2 separate regions of the Homo sapiens genome follow, and region 2 is linked to region 1. Evidence: promoter capture Hi-C in 16 types of primary human blood cells and fetal thymus (Javierre and others, 2016). All regions are on one chromosome and are shown on one strand. The core of a region is centred on a gene start or on the middle of the fragment in contact, and the rest is flanking DNA. Distances in the headings are between cores, read along the strand shown.

What was found. Contacts are between HindIII fragments. The CHiCAGO score rates a contact against its expected background, and 5 or more counts as called.
Region 2: the fragment with the promoter of UBE2W here is called in contact with a fragment that was not itself captured in region 1 in 1 of 17 cell types (fetal thymus); the score reaches 12.4 in fetal thymus.

What each region holds. Positions count from the first base shown.
Region 1 is chr8:74,315,932-74,322,061 of GRCh38, reverse strand. It overlaps JPH1 (junctophilin 1), which reads left to right and starts at 522. Exons shown (of 6, transcript NM_020647.4): 1 at 522-1,153. The coding sequence starts at 775. RefSeq lists a silencer at 372-471 and an enhancer at 565-1,455. The HindIII fragment of the contact is 2,218 bases long and covers 2,396-4,613 here.
Region 2 is chr8:73,876,574-73,882,703 of GRCh38, reverse strand. UBE2W (ubiquitin conjugating enzyme E2 W) reads left to right here and starts at 3,842. Exons shown (of 6, transcript NM_018299.6): 1 at 3,842-3,896. The coding sequence starts at 3,882. It overlaps LINC01617 (long intergenic non-protein coding RNA 1617), which reads right to left and starts at 3,722. Exons shown (of 3, transcript NR_147034.1): 1 at 2,007-3,722; 2 at 542-677; 3 at 1-374. RefSeq lists silencers at 3,610-3,899, 4,040-4,089, 4,110-4,369 and enhancers at 3,756-4,633, 5,110-5,159. The HindIII fragment of the contact is 3,471 bases long and covers 2,843-6,130 here.

The DNA.
Region 1 (6,130 bases), core at 2,255-4,754:
ACATATATCTAGGCGATATTAATTCACGATGACAGCTGAGCATGACAAATGCAACAGTACACAAGTTGGAATGCGAAAACAATGCAACTACAAACCCCATGCAGACAAACACGCATACAATGAGTTTTCCCTCAACACACACGTGGCCGCACTCACAGGAGCTTAACCACTTTGAAAAACCCCAAACACAAACACCGGGGGCTCCGGCGCCCGCGAGCGGCCCCCACACAGGCAGCCGCGCCTTCATCTCCAGGCAGGGATTCTCGTGCGTCCCCGGGTACACTCGCCCTCCCACCGGCATCCCACTGCGCGAACACATGCGCGCCAGCCGGTCCCCGCGCGCGCCCGCCTGCCGAGGAAGCGGCGGCTCCCGGGGCTGGGGGCAGGGCCCGGTGGGGCGGGAGCGCCGCGGGGCCGGGCCTCGGCGCCCGGGGAGGGGACGAGGGGCGGGCGCGGGGCGGTGCCCGGCTCACGTGGGCGGGCGGGAGCAGCTGAAGGTCCGCTCGGGAACCTGGGCTGTCCTCTCGCGCGCGGCGCTGGCCCAGGCGGCGGCGGCGAAGGAGGAGGAGGAGGAGGAGGAAGGCGGCGGTGGCGGCGGCAAAAGAGGAGGGAGGACGGGGGCGGCGTCGGACTGGAGCCGAGCGGCAGCGCGAGCTGCCCAGGGCGCTGTCGTGAGCTCGCCCGCCGGGCCCCCACCCCCGAGCTACACCCTGCCGTGCCCAGCACTGCCCGCGTCCGTGCCCCTGCGGGGAGCGCGCCGGGGCTGCCCCCCGAATGACGGGCGGAAGGTTCGACTTCGACGATGGCGGCACCTACTGCGGCGGCTGGGAGGAGGGCAAGGCGCACGGGCATGGCATCTGCACGGGGCCCAAGGGCCAGGGCGAGTACTCGGGCTCCTGGTCGCACGGCTTCGAGGTGGTCGGAGGCTACACCTGGCCCAGCGGCAACACCTACCAGGGCTACTGGGCGCAGGGCAAGCGGCACGGGCTGGGGGTGGAGACGAAGGGCAAGTGGATGTACCGGGGGGAGTGGTCACATGGTTTCAAGGGGCGCTACGGGGTCCGGCAGAGCCTGTGCACCCCCGCTCGCTACGAGGGTACCTGGAGTAACGGGCTGCAAGACGGGTACGGCGTGGAGACCTACGGGGACGGAGGTGAGCGGCGTAACGGGCGGCTCGGCTGCTCCGCGAGCTGGTGCGGTGGGCTCTGCCCCGGCTGCGGGGAAGCGGGGAGGACGCCGGGCGCACGTGTCCGGAAACCCGCCAAAACACCTGGGGGCGCCTCCCACCCCCGCGCCCGCGCCCGCCTTTCCCAGAGAGGGCGCTGGGACCGGACTGGGGCGCGAGGGCTGGATCTGACCCCGTTCTTGGAGCGGGCCGTGTATCCACACTCAGGGGAGCTAGGCGTGAATGTACCTGGCCGGCGCCAGCGCTGCGCTGCCACCGGGAGGGAGCGCCGCCCGGGAGGGTTGGGCTGGAGAGAGGACGCTGTCACTTGAGCCCGTCACATTACGTTCCTGATCCCTCCCTCTCCCGGCCGGGTTTGAAATCGCCACTCCCGTGGAGTTAGAGCGAACACCCTGAGCGGGTGAGGTTGGCGGTCCGTGCTGACCGCTCCCGGGATTGGTTTCACGTGGAGTCGTATTTCGCTTCTGGTCCTCCAGTAGCCTAAAGATAGAAGCCAGAACCCCGTAACTAGGATGTTGGGGAATTGTACCTTATTTGGGGGTGCATTTGGAAACGTCCTAGTTATGGGAGCAGAAAGGCCACCTGATGCAGGTGGAGTTCAGAGTGTGTGAGTTCCTAGTTTTCATTCCGTTTCTTAAAGTATTGGTCTTAAAAGAGTAGCAGTCTTTGCTGACCTGGAGATCTTGGACAAATTACTAGGAAGATATTTTAGAAATGGGTAATGAAGTCTACATTTTAAAGAATACAATTAGCAGGTGTGTTCCTATAGCTGCTAAGTTAGCAGCTACTACTCCTGAGAATGGCAATACTGAAACAATAATTTGCATTATGTGTGACCTAAGCCAGTATTCCTGGCTGTGAACAAAGATCACCTTATTTTAATATTTAACAATATTTGCCAAAGAGATTGTGTATATACCAGGACAGAAGTTCCTCTTTTATTAGGAAAAGTATACATTATTGAAACAGGTGTCAAAACCTGATGAATTTCCTTGTGTAATACGCTGAGAAAGATATTCATGAATAGCTTATGCTTTAGCAAAGTGCATTTCCTGATAAACATAATCATATTTAGTTGAAAAGGGTTGTAGGAGGCGACATCACTTTTTGGAATTAAGCAGCTCAGAGTTGGAGGATATTAAAGGGATGCAATTAAAAGTTTCTCCAGCCCACTGCAACCCCATTTATACCATTGCTTATATAAAAGCTTACACAATTTGTACACTTCACTTAGTCAGAACACTTGGGCCGTGTTTCAAATGCAAAATGGCAGAATGGTAGAACTTGCTAAAAAGGACATCTTTTCATCCTACAGTATAAATTAAGCATATGGTTCTCATGGATTAAAAGAAAAAAACGTTCTCTAATAGTTTTATGTGGGGCTGAGTCCCGAGTTTCACAGTAGTTAATTGGGACCCTTAAATGTTCTGAATGGGCATAAAGTACCTGGTTGACAGCGCTGTAAATATGTCAGTTTGTGACTGGATTTTGTTGGAGGCCCCAGCTCTACTATATAACTAAATTCCATGCTCAAAAGTAGAAGGCAAAATTTATTGTTTTAAATGTGTGCATTATTTTATAATCTTTTAAGAAGGCCAGGGATGGTTCTCTTCAGTTTTGGAAGGTTAAAAATCGTCTCCTTTTAAAGATACTATTCATTAAACACACTCTCTTGGTTTAGAGTATTCATTATACCTAGTAATCAAAATATATATAGCACAGTAGAGGCTGTCTGTGTACATGTCGTAGAAACCCAAATAAGTCTCCAGAATGATTTTATGAATAATCTGCCTTCAGTTTTAAAATAAACTTAAAAAAAAACTTAAAACTTGGCATCATCCTGGGTGGTACTGTGGTTTTCTTCTTCTACCAAAAAAAAAAATCTAATATGCTACAGTTAGGAAGAAAAACCTTAAAAATCACTACTGAATGTCTACTCTATGCTAATAGATTTTCTACTGTCTCATATGTAACTATTTCATTAGAAAGTTCTCAATCATAAAAAGGGAGTCTAAAGCAAGTTTATTGCTGTAACTTATTTCATACAAAGGTTTTGGCCAAAATAGGAATATCACTAAAAAATTAGCTTGTTTTCTGCTGTTCTCACTAAGGAGTTAGCTTGTTTTTGTTTGCACTCTCCCCATCGCCACATGTCCATCCCTGTACACCCTGTATCAGATTCAGGGAAAATCTGATTCCGAGTTTTTTTGTGGTGACATTAAACTGGAGGAGGAAGGAAGCAGTAATTCCATGTGAGACGTATCACTTATTTTATTAGTGATTTGTGTATTACATGTTGCTGAAATAGAAACCCCCTGAATATTAACAATAAGTTAGTATCATACTCATGAAATCCAAGTCTAGGTGCCCAGAATTTTTTGTGCTAATTCTGATCTGTACTTTGTTTTTTCACTTGTCATAAAACTATTGAAAATATCTGGGAAAACACAACGTTTTGTTAACTAGATGCATACTTGCACATACCCATTCGGAGCATATAAACTGAAGTTTGGCATAGTGCAGTGCAAATTTGACTGAAACTCCTAAACTGGATGCCTTCCACTACAAGATTGTGTAGTTAAAATGACTAAATCTAAAAAATTAGCTCCCAAATGAACACAGTTTAAAACTGGTAAAAGTAATTTTTATACTTGTGAAATATGCATCTACATTTTAGGAATCAAGAGGAACTAATTAGAACTTTATTTGAGCAGCAGGGAGAAGTTGGAACCCACCTGCTTCATAAAGAAATAGGCCCTTTCTTATTCTAGGTTCATTGACTAAACTAAACCTATTTTAAATTTCAGATGAACTGCTAACAGTTTGACTGCAAATTGGTTTCTAGCAATTCTGTGGAGGAATTCTTTCATATACTGTGATTTAACAAAATAGGAGAGGAATGTGGCCAATGCTCTTGTCCCCCCCTTCCCTATTTGACAGTTAAGCAGAGACTTAAACTTTCTAATTATTGCTGTTGCCTTAAACAGCTTGGATTTTCAAGCCATACTTTTTTGGAAATTCTAAATACTGTACTAGTCTTATTTTTGGAGATAACAGTTTAAAGAAACTAGCTGTTAATTTTCCATCAGTGTTAAACATTTACCAAGATGGTATGGCTGTGTTTTAAAAGTGCAGATACTTATTGATATCAAACAGCATCTCTGCAAATTGTTCTAGCAAAATTAACTTGTCACTATAGACAAAAGTTAGGAGGATGTGATTATAGCATTCTTTTAACCAACAAAATATTAAAAATAAGGTGGTTTATTTTAGTATCTTCAAGCCAGATTGTGAAACTTTCATCCTAGAATTTAAATTTTACCTGTATAGGCAAAGGAAAAGTCAAAGTCAAAATTTCCTAATAATTCCATTCCCATTCCTGTTAAGATGGCGGTATTTGGAGATGGCCAGTATTCAATAGGAAGCTTCTTAGCCTGAAATGTTTTACATGACTATCTTATCCTCTTGAGTTAATCTTTCAGAGAAAACTGTGGGCCACCCACCTCCTCAGAAGTTCATAGATGTCAAGTTAAGACTTCACATCTACCCAGAATATGACATTTACAGTACCAGACCCACTTAGTATTTCATTGTATATCTACTATTGCCTGTGTCACATATGCCAGAATGAACAAAAAGAGAAGGTAGTCTTGAAATTGGTCAAAACCGTTGACTTGGGAGTCATTATGGTTTTAACTTTTAAGTGCAATGAAATAACCAGCCATTGTTAACACAGTTATATAAAACCACTAGCATTTTTGCCCGGTGTTTTGAAAATGAATATGTGCCATGCAATGGAAATCTGTGCATGGAAATATAAAATGCAAAGTGACTGCAGGGTAGATCTATATAATCAGAAATGGAAAGAGGTCAAGACAGACTAATCATTATTTGTTTTCTATGACATTGTGAATTGTTATGAATAACACAGAAGTAATTACATTTTAAATTTTCCAGATAGCTTCTTTTGAGGGATACTGTAAATTAAAATTTACCCTTAATTAAAGGAAATTGATTTTGAAAAGAAACTTCTAAATTCCCTAATTTAACATTCATTTCCTCCTAAGATTATTTTAAAACCTGTACCAGGTTATTTTTTAATGTCTTTGCTTATTTATTTAGTAGCAAAAAATTCACTACAAATGCTCTAGATGACAGACTATCATGAAAAAGCATAATATTTGTTGACAGAGTCATCTGGTATCAACATTTTAATAGATAGTGTCAAATATACCTTTCCTCTGAGATGAAGTCCAAAATGGTAACAGTAGAAGATTTCATCTGGCCTTACATCAGTTTCTCCAAGAGTAAAGGGTATACTTTTTAGCCACCATAGCTTTTTACCGTCAACATAGTCATCAAACACCCTCCATCCACAAACACAGACCAGAGGACACATGAGAATTTTGTGTTCTCATACGAAGTAATTCCTGCCCTCAGGGTGCTTCTAGTCTGTGGTGTGATTCACAATGCAGTGGCAGCTAGGGAAATCCATAGAGGATGCAGAGATTTGGCAAATGATACGGCACAAAGCTTTGGCCTTTTCACTTAGAAGCACAAAAATGTTAAATTACTCATTTTTTTCATAATTCACTGTATTCATAATATATATTGTGGTTGTCGATTCTCTCTTAGCTCAAAAAGGTTCACCCAAATTCAAATGATAATCCTGAATATTCAACAGTTTTGTCTACACTAAAAAAAGAGATGCTGAATGTAGCAGAAAATTTAAGACGTTCATTTGATGACTGTGTCCCAAGTATTCCGATTTAAGCCTGTATACTTCTTGGAATGTTATACTGACATAGACCTAAAAGTCATTTTTTACAGTTTTCCAGCTAAATTAGTAATATTAGAATAAAATTTACACATAGAATTCATTTCATCTTCTACTGTTTCCTTGTCTTCTTCCCAAGAGGAATTTTTGATGCATTAATTTCAGAG
Region 2 (6,130 bases), core at 2,593-5,092, 440 kb after region 1:
ATTCTCTTTAATAGATGCATGGAATTTGAAATTTGGAAGAAACCATAAAGATTATGCAGTCTGACTTGCGCATTTTATTGATAAGGAAAGAAACCCAGAAAGATTAGAAGCCTTACCTAAGCTTGTTAATCACAGAGCTAAGATAAGAATACAAGCCTTGGATTCTTACTTTGGTACCTTTTCCAAAATCCAGTAACAAACTGTTGGTGACTGAACTGTCTCCATTTCTCTGCTGAGATCAGCCCCTAGGAGACTAAGAACAAACTACTGGGTGGAGGCATAGACTCAAGCAAGGACTCATCAATTCTGCCTTTTCATGCTTCAACAAACAAATGTTCACAGGACTGCTTCTGACTTCCCAGTTTAATAAATCACTAGAACAAAAGCATTCATAAATCACATTACATTATCCATTATAGCACTTACCCAGTAGTCCCTTTGTGGGTCCTTTAATGTTACTATTTAGTTTCCCATATTTCCTTTTCTTTACTAGCAGAAAGTCCAGATGCTAATTTAGACCTGTCTCAGGCTCTCTCTTTACCTTGGAAGGGAAGATCTCAGGCACATACACAGCTTGGGTATGTCCAGATTTTTTTTTTCTTCCAGGGAAGTGGAGATGCAGGTAGTTTGTGAGATGAGGGAGAATCTCCTCGTAAGCTGATGGACATTTCTAATAGCTGTGGAAATGAAAAAGTGAACATCATTATCAAATCTAACAAAAATAATAATTCCTTAATATCCTCTAATATCTACTCTATATTTAATTTTCTCCAGGTGTCTCAAAAATATCTCTTTTACAGTTTGTTTGAATCTAGATCCAAACAATGTTAACATATGCATTTGTTCAATGTACTCTTACGTGGCCAAGCATGGCCTGTAATCCCTGTAATGCCAGCACTTTGGAAGGCCAAGGCAGGTGGATCACTTGAGGCCAGGAGTTCGAGACCAGCCTGGGCAACATGATGAAACCCCGTCTCTACTAAAAATACAAAAAATTAGCCAGGTGTGGTGGCACATGCCTGTAGTCCCAGCTACTAGGGAGGCTGAGGCAGGAGAATCACCTGAGCCCGGCAGGCTGCAGTTGCAGTGGGCCAAGATCGCGCCACCGCACTCTAGCCTGGGTGACAGACTGAGACTCCGTCTCAAAAAAAATATATATATATATATAAATATATATATAAATATATAATATATATATTTTATATTATATATAAATATATATATTTATAATATATATATAAATATATATAAAACTCATATGATGCTATTAAGAAGATCCAGTAAGGATATGGGAAACTTTAACTTCATTATTGCCGAACTATTTTCCAAAGTGATTGCACTAGTGTCACTCCTATAGAGTTTATGAGAGCTCCACTTCCTCTCTCACTTTTGGTATTGTCAGATATTTTTTTTGAGACAACAGGGTCTTGCTCTGTCACCTAGACTGGAGTGCACTGGCATTATCCTGTCAGACATTTTAACTTTTGCCTATCTGATAGTAATGATAGTAAGCCTCGCTCTGTAGAAATATGAGCCTAGTCTTCAAACATGGCATAATAGTGTTTTAGATATTAACATTACATGCTCACTGGAGATAATTATATACCCCCCATACCATCTGTAAGTCACTGTTTTGGCTCCTATGTCAGGATCTTTTTATTAAATATTAACAAAAGAATGGCCGGGCGCAGTGGCTCACACCTGTAATCCCAGCACTTTGGGAGGCTGAGGCGGGTGGATCACGAGGTCAGGACTTCGAGACCAGCCTGGCCAACATGGTGAAACCCCCATCTCTACAAAATATACAAAAAAATTACAAAAAATTAGCAGAGCGTGGCGGTGTGCGCCTGTAATCCCACCTACTCGAATCACTTGAACCTGGGAGGCAGAAGTTGCAGTGAGCCAAGATCGCGCCATTGCACTCCAGCCTGGGTGAGACTGAGACTCCGTCTCAAAGAAAAAGAAAAAAAAAAGAAGACAGGTTATTATGTGCTATTTAGTATTACCTAGAAAGGATATGACTGGCATTGACTTTTCCCTCCTGAGAAGATACTTCTAACATATATGAAACCCAAGGGACCAGATATTGGATCCACTGTGATGAGTGTCAGAATTCTTGTAACCTCTTTTTTCCTTATTAGTATCTGTCATGCCAGGTTGTTGGCTCTGATGATGTCATAATGCTTTGTTTGTAGGGTCATCCGATGCTACTGTTTCCACAGGAACAATCAGCTTTTAGGCAAAGTGAACCTTGGACGGTAAAAGCTGATCTTCTGAGGTCATAGGAATAAATATATCTCAAAGAAAATACACTGGAAACTTCTTCTTTAAGTTTTCCTCTTTCATTGGAATATGTGGGTTTCCTCACTGTTGTAATGTTGATGACACAACAAGGCTAACACCGGATATGCTTCTGGCTGATTCCGGTTTACCAAGAGCATCCAAACATCCCTCAAGGACACAGTCATTTTGCACAACAAAGGGAAACTCCGCTCATTTCTGGCATTAAGGTGGACATCTGAGAAAGGGGAGGGTATACCACCATAACTTCTCTAGTGATGAATAGTGTTTAATATTATACCATAGACTAACTGGCGTATTTTAAAGATCTTTTTCCTTTTTGAACACATTTCAGATTAGAGAAGTTCCAGAGAACGTAATCTATTTTAAGAGTGTGAAAGAGTGATATTCCACATTGCTTTTATATCTTAAAGAAATTTCTAAAAAGAAAGCCGAGTCAATAAAATGACAGATTTTAAGCCTTCATTCTGGTAACATAAAAGCCTTCTACTCATTGTGTCTGCCACCTTAATTTTTAAAGATAGAGCATGAGGTGTAAGCTTTTGGCTTCCATTTTCCTCTTATAAACCAATGACATCTTCAGTTCCAGAATAGCTTTTTAAAAACGTGACTTCTGATAAATGTTGGCAGAACTGGTGCATTCCTAAAATAAATTATGTATGCTCAGCTTTCCCTACCCAAGTTCATCCCTAAATGACCACAAAACTGCCCACCACGAACTATGCTTAAGAGAAGTCTGGACATAATGGTATAAGTGTATATAACACGACATTGGTATATTTAAAAAAAAATTCATGCCTAGGGTCAATTCTGATAATCAAATTTAGACTGCTGCAACAACCGTAACTATTGTTGATATATGCGCAGTTTAAAAGTGAAGGGCGGGGGTAAGGGGCAGAAACTGCACACAACAAACTTCCAAATTTTGTCTCCCTTTTCAGGCAAGTTTCAGCTCCACAAATCTAAATACCCTCGCCTTTAAAATATCAGTGTCGTTCTGCTCTTAAATCCTCATCCCGTTGTACAAGGAAACCTATGTCTCTCTTCCCCAAATTAAGAATACGAGAAGCCTTCCAGGTCTGCAAATACCAGAAAGCAGCTGCGCATGAAGTTTTATGGGGCCCCAAGGCTCTGAGAGTGGGCTTGGAGGTATGGAAAACACATCCCAAGGGAAAAATCTGTGAACCGCACAACTGTGGTTGGAAACGAAATAGGAAAAAAACTGCGCGGAACCGGACGTCATCAGCATTTCGCGGTACACACGAAGAAAACAACCGTAGTCGGGTCAAAACTGGAGCCGTGTCTCCTCAGTAACGAGAGTAAATGGGGGCCCGACGCGTGAGCGGCCAGCCGGACTGAGACAGAAAGTACTCAGAGCGCCATTTACCGCGCCCTCGCCCCGCCCCGTAGCCCCTCCTCCCGTCCGCCCTGCGCGCCAGCCAATCCCCTCGCTCCATCCCCTTCCCATCGCAGACCCCGCCCCCGCGCCCGGGATGTTGAGCCCCCGCGGCGTGACGCGAGCACGGCAGCTCCTCCCCCTGCGTCTCTGGCCTCGCCGGTCTTGGGGGGATGGTTCCATCATGGCGTCAATGCAGGTGAGAGGAGTTTGCTGCATCTGGGCGGGCCAGGGAGCCGCCGAGAGAGTGCCAGCGTTCGGGCGGGGGTGGCGTCCGCGATTCGGGGACACCCGGGCGGGTTCGGGATCGGTCCGGGTGGCCTGTTTTCCCTCAGCTCAGGGCGTCGGGGGAGGGGTAAGAGGCGGCGAGAGGCGTTGTGGGGGGTGCGGTATCCGTCGGTCGAAGCGGACACCAGCCGGCCGGGAAGTTGGGTGATAAAGGAGGGTTGGGGAAGAAAGGGCAAAGTCTGGCGTTGGCGGTCTCAGAATCGGCTCCCCGCACACACACACGGGCGCTGCCAGTCTGCTGCCCGCCAGCCCCAGGGTTGCCTTTACCCCCGCTGTCCCTGGCCCGACGGAAACAGCTGCGCCCGCGGTTGTTGCCGGGGCAGGGGCGGCGGGGGGCTGAGTGTGCGGGAGCCGAGAATGCGTCTCCGGAGAAGGCGGCTGGCTGCGGACGGCGCTTAGCGGCCTCTGCTCCGGCCTCCCACGCCGGGCCCCCCAGACTGCTCGGCCCCGTCCCTCTCTTCTTCCCTTTGACTCTTAATCCTGTGCCCGTGGGTATCTTCTATTTCCATCAGCCTCGGTATTCTCGCGGACATTCCTCCAGCAGTCCACTGTCTCCTTCCTCTCGAAGCTGCCCCGTGTCCACCGCCTGATGGGCGATCTCCCGAGAGCCGAGTCCTCAGCCCCCTTAAACCTCTCGGGATAGCTTGCCTTCTATTTTGTTTCCCACTGCAAGGCCCCACCCTTGCGGTCGCGATAAGGCTATACATCTCTTTGCCCTTATTCCCAGACCTTTAGTGGAACCTTAGTTTGGTAGGAGGCGTTTGTTAACCTGTGCCATATCCCCCCGACTTAGCAAGGCGTGGTTTTCTGGCTTTCCAACTTAATTTACTCCTTTTTCCCGAATCTAGGGAGTTGTGGGTTTTTTTGTTTTTTGTTTCCAGGCAAAGATGGCAACCACAATTGTAGTTGTGCAGGGATTGAGTGCGTTATCTGTAGCCTGCATTTAATTCACAGGTGAAGACTAGCGGTATCAAAGGCATTGGAAGAGAAAGTAGAACGCTCAATAGGAGTGTCAGCTGAGTACCCTTTAGCGTTTTCATAATATCCCCTTGGGTAAAGAGACCACATTTTCTTAGAAGTGTTTTTTGCTTTTGTTTCTGGAAGAAGCAAGTCTCTGTTCCTCCTCCATTTTTTTTTCTTTACTCTGCTAAAAGTGTTTTTCTTCCCTTTTCTGCATCTTCTTCCTCTTTTGTACAAATATAGCTTTGCTTCACATTTACTCCTGTGCTTTTATGTTATTCCCCTTTCAACCTGTTTTCCTTACAATATTCTCTTTACCTTGCTTCTCCCTCTGGACTTGCCTGCAGAACAGAAAAGTTTTATGTAACATTTCTAGTTGAAGAGATATCACGAATGGTGCAGGGAAAAAACAGGAACAATTTCAGGAAACATTATACTTTACACTAGTCTCCCCAGAGACGTTGGAGAAGTTTCGTCATTTGAGGCCAAAAAAGGAACAGTGGAATGCTAGTTGAACAGTAGATGCAATAGGCTACATTACCACTTAAAGATTTTTATCTGTGTTAAGATTAAAACATTTTTTATGACAAGTTTAAGATTATTATCTGTATTAAGATTAAAACATTATTTGAGGCTAAACATTAAGATTAAAATCCACAACACTTGTATTTGACAAGAGAACGTAGTGTGTCATCTCGTTAGATTTAGTATCTGGAAAAGGCAGATTTGTTTGTAAGAGAGAGGTTGGTAATCTTGAACTTGAACTTTACATGGTGTCTTTTTTCTTTTTTGAGATGGAGTTTCGCTCTTGTTGCCCAGGCTGGAGTGCAATGGGGCGATCTTGGCTCACCGCAGCCTCCACCTCCCGAGTTCAAGCGATTCTCCCACCTCAGCCTCCTGAGTAGCTGGGATTACAGGCATGAACCACCACGCCCAGCTAATTTTGTATTTCAGTAGAGACGGGGTTTCTTCATGTTGGTCAGGCTGGTCTTGAACTCCCGAACTCAGGTGATCCGCCTGCCTTGGCCTCCCAAAGTGCTGGGATTACAGGTGTGAGCCACCGTGCCTGGCCTACATGATGTCTTAAGAATTGGAAACAAATACTTGATTGACAGTGCAATAGTGCATTTTTCTGTGCCCTAAGTATTACTATCTCAGACTCTTACCACCCTTTTAAGTTTTTCC